2 separate regions of the Homo sapiens genome follow, and region 2 is linked to region 1. Evidence: promoter capture Hi-C in human tissues and cell types (Jung and others, 2019). All regions are on one chromosome and are shown on one strand. The core of a region is centred on a gene start or on the middle of the fragment in contact, and the rest is flanking DNA. Distances in the headings are between cores, read along the strand shown. Region 1 holds the start of OR10G3 (olfactory receptor family 10 subfamily G member 3). Region 2 overlaps HNRNPC (heterogeneous nuclear ribonucleoprotein C).

The links. Contacts are between HindIII fragments. The study calls those that stand out against the background at their distance.
Region 2: a fragment that was not itself captured here is called in contact with the fragment with the promoter of OR10G3 in region 1 in 2 of the 25 tissues and cell types used here (aorta and lymphoblastoid cells).

What each region holds. Positions count from the first base shown.
Region 1 is chr14:21,578,229-21,582,190 of GRCh38, forward strand. OR10G3 (olfactory receptor family 10 subfamily G member 3) reads right to left here and starts at 1,848. Exons shown (of 2, transcript NM_001005465.2): 1 at 1,558-1,848. The HindIII fragment of the contact is 16,961 bases long and covers 1-2,054 here.
Region 2 is chr14:21,256,770-21,260,731 of GRCh38, forward strand. The region is part of intron 2 of HNRNPC (heterogeneous nuclear ribonucleoprotein C); the gene reads right to left. Among named protein-coding and RNA genes, the nearest start is that of HNRNPC, 11 kb to the right of the region's middle. The HindIII fragment of the contact is 7,394 bases long and covers 1-3,962 here.

The DNA.
Region 1 (3,962 bases), core at 598-3,097:
GGTGAAACCTCGTCTCTACTAAAAATACAAAAATTAGCTGGGCATAGTGGTATGAGCCTGTAATCCCAGCTACACAGGAGGCTGAGGCAGGAGAGTAGCTTGAACCCGGAAGGCAGAGGTTGCAGTGACTTGAGATCGTGCGATTGCACTCCAGCCTGGGCAACAAGAATGAAACTCCATCTCAAAATAAATAAATAAATAATAAATAAACAAAATAAAATAAAGACCATCTAGTACATGAATGTTTGAAAAATATATGAGAAATATTAGGGGACCACAAACTAAATAAAAGTGTATAATTTTGAGCAACCAAGGAGATTAGACATCTTTTCTAATGAGGCGAAGGGCACAGGCTTAACCTCATTTCAGCAAATGAATTTTACTTAATTCTGGTCCCAAACTGTATCCCTAACCCATCTTTCAAATGGCCATGAAGAAAACTTTAAAAATTTTATTATTTTCTGAAAATCGACTCAAAGCACACTTTTTTATTTATAAAAAGCATTTCAAATATTTGGAAAACTAATATAATTAATTTCTTTTTAAAATAAATTTCACAATAAGACATATAAAATGGAAAATAATTTAAAGATGAATAACAATGGAACAAATATATACATATATAATATGAGAAAAGTTTGAGTTATTAAATTGAGAGACATGAGACAATTTCTATTAAAATGTAAAACCCTTATTAGCAATGAGTTAGAATTGTCTGTTTAAAATATTTGCCAACAAAGAAATCAGGTTATAGCTTTACTCATGTCCATTTTTCAAATTTTGGGCAGAGAACTTGTCTTATAGGTGGAAGGGACCTGGTGAGGACAAAAAGAACAGAGCAAGGGTGGCACCACCACAGAACTCGAAGATGCTCTTCCTAGTCTGGTTGGTATTAAAACCAGTGAATGGACTTTTAATGGAGAATAGCTTTGGAGAAAAATTTAGCCAATTAAAGGCCTGGGGGAAATAGTGTTATCCAATATTAGCCACTATTTTTTAATTTTTTAATTTTTTTAATTTTAATTTTTATTTTTGAGATGGAGTCTCTCTCTGTTGCCCAGGCTGGAATGCAGTTGTGCCATCTTGGCTCACTGCAACCTCCATCTCTCAGGTTCAAGTGATTCTCCTGCCTCAGCCTCCCAAGTAGCTGGGATTACAGGCGTGTACCACCACCCCCAGCTAATTTTTGTATTTTTAGTAGAGATGGGGTTTTACCATGTTGGTTAGGCTGGTCTTGAACTCCTGACCTCAGGTGATCCGCCCGTCTTGGCATCCCAAAGTGCTGGGATTACAGGTGTGAGCCAACATGCTTGGCCTATTAGCCACTATTTATAAAAAGGCTAAATGGTAGTTACATAGTCATATGAGCAGAACAGCAAAGAAAATTTTTGTGACAGCAGAAAAAGAACTATACTGAGTAACTAAACAAGTAAGAATATTGAGAGATGAAGTGACTCAGAGTAGAGAAACCCCTTACACAATGTTTGGACTTAACATTTATCTCTGAAAAATGGGATTAGAACAGTGGCAGGTGCTATTTTGAGAAGAGGAACTCACCTGAAGGTGTCAGCATCCATCAAAAACTCTTCTTGCAGACGGAGAGAAAGGATACAAATCTATTCCTAAGGAATCTTGAATATCTCATAGGTCAGCAGCAATTATTGTGAAGAGCTCGTGGCAGAAGACCCAACTAATTACTTTTGGCTGGATCAAAGTAAAGAGTCAAACTATGGAAACTTAATTTATTATTTGCCTGCTTATTTGTAGAGATATCTGCTTCCAGCTTCCTTATGAACTGGGGGAGGAGCTGTGGCTCTTACTGAAGATAACTGTTAAGGTTGGTCTCTCCTGTGTTCTACTACTTCTTCTATTTCCCTCAGAGTCAGTTTTTATGTGTGAGACCTTTAGCTTGGGGAATATTGTAATAGCACTCCTGTGATAGGCAAGACCAATATCCATAGTTTGTTTCCTAGGAGACTCTCTGGGTTTCTAGCTTTTTCCAATTTTGTAACAGCAGGTGCGACAAAGTCTGTGGGGCTTAACAGGTCTCGTTGAAATCTTCAGATCTGTGGTTTTCTTTCTGTTCCAAAGCAAATTTGGAAAAAAAGAGAAGAAAAAGCTAACATGGTTGTTACTTGGCAAGAGATGTGTTCTTATTGGTGCATTCACATTTTAAGAAATTCACACTTTGAATTACTAAGGTGCTAACATAGACCTTCACAGACTAGAAGAAACAGAATTTCAGGGTTGGAGGGACATTAGAGGTCATCTGATCCAACTATCATCTGTAATGTTTTAAGTCAAGCTCCCTGAACAGTGATTTTTCTTTTTTAATTTTACAATTTTATTTATTTATTTATTTTTTGAGACAGGGTCTTGCTCTGTCGCTCAGGCTGGAGTGCAGCGACGTGATCACGGCTCACTGCAGCCTCATCCTCCTAGGCTCAAGCGATTCTTCCACCTCAGCCTCCCAAGTGGCTGGGACTACAGGCACATACCACCACACCTGACTAATTTTTAAATTTTTCGTAGAGACGAGGTCTCACTAGATTGCTCAGGCTGGTCTTGAACTCCTGGGCTCAAGTGATCCTCCTCCCTCTACCTCCCAAAATGCTGGGACTACAGGTGCAAGCCACTGCCCCCGGCCTGTTATTTTTCTTAGTATTTCTTGGTCTTGTTTCCTTGAATACTTTGAATTTGGTCTAACTTATTTTCTTCTAGACTTAAATTTGGTGTTGTCGCAACATTTTTCCCAACTGTCTTCAAATGTCCAGAGATGGTCTGTGTTGTAAAAGAACATCTTGAATATGGTTTAGTTTTATTATTTTTTCCACCAAACTTTTGTGGAGGTCTCTGTAGCTTCCAAGCCACAATTGTGTTAAAGTGTCTAAAGCAGAGGAAAGCACACTTTCTCTCTAAAGAGGCAGATAATAAATGTTTTTGGCCTTGAGGACCATACAGTCTCTGTTGCAGCTACTCAACTCTGCCATTGTATGGGAAAGCAGCCATAAAATACACATACAAATGGGCATGGGTTTTTTTTTTTTTTGAAACGGAGTCTCACTCTGTTGCCCAGGCTGGAGTGCAGTGGTGTGATCACGGCTCACTACAACCTTTGCCTCCGGAGTTCAAGTGATTCTCCTGCCTCAGCCTCACGAGTAGTTGGGATCACAGGCACCTACCACCATGCCCAGCTAATTTTTGTACTTTTAGTAGAAACAGGGTTTTACCATGTTGGCCAGGCTGGACTAGAACTCCTGACCCCAGGCAATCTGCCCGCCTCAGCCTCCCAAAGTGCTGGGATTACAGGAGTGAGCCACCTAGCCCAACCCCGGCATGGTTTTATTTATTTACTTAATTATATACTTTACTTATAGATACTATAATTTGAATGTCATAATTTTCATGTATCATGAAATATTATTTTCATTTTGCTTTTTTCAACAACTTAAGAAATGTAAGTTCTAGCAGGGTGCAGTGGCTCATGCCTGTAATCCCAGCACTTTGGGAGGCGAAGGTGGAGCCCAGGAGTTCAAGAACAGCATAGTGAATATAGTGAGACCCTTTCTCTACCAAAAAAAAAAAAAAAAAAAAAATTAGCCAGATGTGGTAGCACATGCCTATGGTCCCGGCTACTTGGGCAGCTGATGTAGGAGGACCACTTTAGCCTGAGAGGATGAGGCTGCAGTGAGTCGTGATTGTACCACTGTACTCCAGCCTGGGTGACAGAGTGAGATCGTTTGTTAAAAAAAAAAAAAAAAGTAAGTTCTTAACAGGTTGTACAGAACACACGGGGCAGGCCAAATTTGGCCCACAGGTGAACAGAGCTGATGTGGGGAAACACGAAGCATGTTTGTGGCTAATCAGTGAGGAGAAATGGCTGAAAGTCTGTGTGTGTGGCTTTTGTGCAGAGCCACAACCCATACTGATCCCTATAACTTCAGGAATTGCAGCCTAGGTTT
Region 2 (3,962 bases), core at 593-3,092, 320 kb before region 1:
TGTCTCTCAAGTAGCTGGGACTACAGACACTTGCCACCACTCCTGGCTAATTTTTGTATATTTTTGAAGAGACAGGGTTTCACCATGTTGCCCAGGCCGGTCTCAAACCCCTGAGCTCAAGCGATGCGCCTCCCTCAGCCTCCCAAAGTGCTGGGATTACAGGCCTGAGCTACCACACCTGGCCAACATGATTTTCTAATAGGCCAAAGGTGAGAAGAGTAAAAGTCAAGGATGGCTAGCCAAAATCTTTGGCCCAAGAGACACAAAAATTGTTTCATTAACTGAAAAAGGCAACAGTACACAAGAGACTGGTTTGAGGCATGAACATCAGGAGCACAGTTTTGCACTTTTAAGTTGACATATTGGATATTCAACAGAGTTGTCATGCAGGTAAACTGAATTGGTATGACATTCGAAAGAAAAGTATAGGCTGTTGATCTTAAGTGTCGAAATCAGCTTATAGGTGGTATATTACATCATGAATGAATCTGAATGAAATTGGACCCAGAGTGTGGACAGAAAAGAGAAGTGGAAGGACTGAACCATGGGGCACTCCAACAGAAAGAAGTTTAACATGTAACAGAAACATGTAACAAAAACCTGGAAGCAAAGTAAAAAAAAAATAAAAACGTTTCAAGGAAGAGATCTGGTTAAATGGAACCAACAGGTCAAGTGAGATGAGGATTGAAAAAGGACCCCTGGGCTTAGTTAATGCATCCGTCTCCGTGGTTCTTTTTTAACCACAAATAATTTTTTTCTAACTGAAGTTCACTTCGGTTTTATAAGTCTTAGAAAAAAAAAAAAGATAGCTCACTTTTGTTTTTTTACTTTAAGAGATAGGGTCTCACTCTTGTCACCCAGGCTGGAGTACAGTGGCGCAATCATAACTCACACTGACCTCAAACTCCTGAACTCAATTAATTCTACCGCCTCAGCCTCCCAGGGAGCTACACTACAGCTGTGTGCCACCGTGCCCAGCTTTTTGTAGACAGGCTCTTGCTATGTTGCCAGACTTTCCTGGCCTTAAGCTATCCTCCAACTTCAGCCTCCCAAAGTGCTGGGATTATAGGCATAAACTGCTGCAACTGGCCTAAAGCTCACTTTTAAAATGTGCTTGCTTCCCTATTAACAATGCCATCACAACCATGGTAACATTTTACCAAGATACATCTACCTAAACATTAACTACCTTGCACATATACACATCTTTAAGCCATTTAAGGTGTTGGGAAATCAAGGGCAAAAATATAAACATATTTAGTTTTAAAATTTTAATAATAAAAGTCCAAAGTTGTTCTTTGGAACTTTAACCAAACTAAAATCTGTTTTTCTAGAATGCTCAGCCGGACACAGTGGCTCACGCCTGTAATCCCAGCACTTTGGGAAATCGAGGTGGGCGGATCACGAGGTCAGGATTTCTAGACCAGCCTGGCCAACATGGTGAAACCCCATCTCTACTAAAATATAAAAATTAGCTGGGTGTGGTGGTGCATGCCTGCAATCCCAGCTACTCAGGAGGCGGAGGCACAAGAATCGCTTGAACCCAGGAGGCGGAGGTTGCAGTGAGCCAGAGATCATGCCACTGCACTCCAGCCTGGTGACAGAGCGAGACTATGTCTCAAAAAAAAAAAAAAGTTCAACATATCAAAGTGACGAAAGGAGTCTACTATCATTAAGTGTTGAAATCTGCACCCTTAATCCCAGGGTTGAATCCATGCTAAACCACTAAAGCAGTTTAACTTTAGGCAAGTTATTTAAATTCTGTACTCCAATATTCTCACCTCTAAAACATGAATAACAGTATCTACTCCTACTCAAGGTTTTGATGATGATTAAGTTAACACAAACTCACAACTTTAACAGTGTTGGACATAGTCAAGTGTTTAGAATACTTCCATAAATTAATGTCCTGCTACTTTTTTCTGCCAAATCAGAAAGCCATTATATGACCCAACAAGGTATCAGAAATAATTAGTAATTTCCTGGAGCCTCATCAGTTCTCAACCTATCTTACTCAGACTGATTTTGCTCATTAATACACCCAATAAAAACTCATTTGAAAAACCAGGGCAAGTTATTGTTAGGCTTGGGATGATTATTTTCTTCAAGAGATTGAGACAGTGGCCTACTCTAATAGGTCTCCAAACTTACTGCCCTACTTGCCCTCTTAGTTCTCATCACTAATATTCCCTACACAACAGAAGATAAACCAGACCTCTTCTTCAAAATCCTTCAATAGATTCTACTTGTGCCCAAGACAGGATCTTAAACAAGACCCTCTAAGGTCCCGTGCTATGAAATGTTTGGTCCTTGCCTACCTCTCTAACTCCATCCCTCATCTATGTATTCTTGGTAATTATTTTCCAGTATTATTTCTTACTTGGAGGCCAAGTCTTGTTCCCCCTCATTATCTGTGCTTTCACATATGGTTTTCTTACAGAATGAGCTTCACCATTAGCTACTTCCACGTAGCTAAGCTTCCCTGGCAGCATCCCCCAAATTCCATGTTCTAATTTTGGTTCCCTTGCCATCTTCTCATCCACGCTCTTCTTTTCCTTCATCGATCCTTACTGTGAAAAGTGCCATTTACTTTGTTTCTTCCCTCAATGATCTATAATATCTAAGAGGGCAGGGGACATGTTTTGTTCATCCCTATATGCCCAAACCTAATGATTTTCAAATAGTACTCAGATACTTAATAAAACATCTTATACTTGAATGTTCCTTGAATACCTCCAAGATGTTTAAAATATTCTTTTTCCCACCCTCAAACTATAATCTGCTCCCTTCATTCATTCCCCAATATCTATCCCTATCCCAGAAGCTAGAAACCAGCAATCATGCCAAATCTGTGTTCTTGTCCACCTTATCACATCCATCCTGAGATGCTCCTAATTTTACCTCCTAATCTCTAATCTCATAGCATTACCTTTGTCCAAGCCAGGTCGTTATTCTTTCTTGGATTTTAATATCTCCTTTATTAATCTCCTACTTCCAATCTCATTTCCTCTACACCATTTCCATACTGTTATTAGAAAGACATTCCTAAAAATTAAAATCTTCCAGGAGTTTTTGAGACCAGCCTGGGAAACAAAATGAGACCTGTCTCCACCAAAAAAAAAAAAAAACAATAAAAAATAGTCAGGTGGGCCGGGCGCGGTGGCTCACGCCTGTAATCCCAGCACTTTGGGAGGCCGAGGCGGGCGGATCACGAGGTCAGGAGATCGAGACCATCCCGGCTAAAACGGTGAAACCCCGTCTCTACTAAACATACAAAAAAATTAGCCGGGCGTAGTGGCGGGCGCCTGTAGTCCCAGCTACTTGGGAGGCTGAGGCAGGAGAATGGCGTGAACCTGGGAGGCAGAGCTTGCAGTGAGCCGAGATCGTGCCACTGCACTCCAGCCTGGGCAACAGAACAAGACTCCATCTCAAAAAAAAAAAAAAAAAATTAGCCGGGCATAGTAGCAGGTGCCTGTAATCCCAGGTACTCGGGAGGCTGAGACAGAGAACTGCTTGAAACCAGGAGGCAGAGGTTGTGGTGAGCCAAGATCACACCACTGCACTCCAGTCTAGGTGACAGAGCGAGACTCCGTCTTATTTAAAAAAAAAAAAAAAAAAAAATCCCTTTATGTGATTAAGGTAGAAGGAATAAATTTATAAATTTAAAGTTATAAATAAAAATAATAAAAAAAGGATTCCCTGACCTCTCAGGGTTAGTTAGGTAACCATTTCTGCATGCTTTCTTTTTTTAAAAAGAGATGGGGTCTCGCTGGGTGCGGCAGCTCACACCTGTGATCCCAAAACTTCAGGAGGCTGAGGCGGGTGGATCACCTGAGGTCAGGAACTTGAGACCATCCTGGCCAACATGGCATCTCTACTGAACCCTGTCTCTACTAAAAATAGAAAAATTTAAGGCCAGGTGCAGTGGCTCATGCCTGTAATTCCAGCACTTTGGGAGGCCG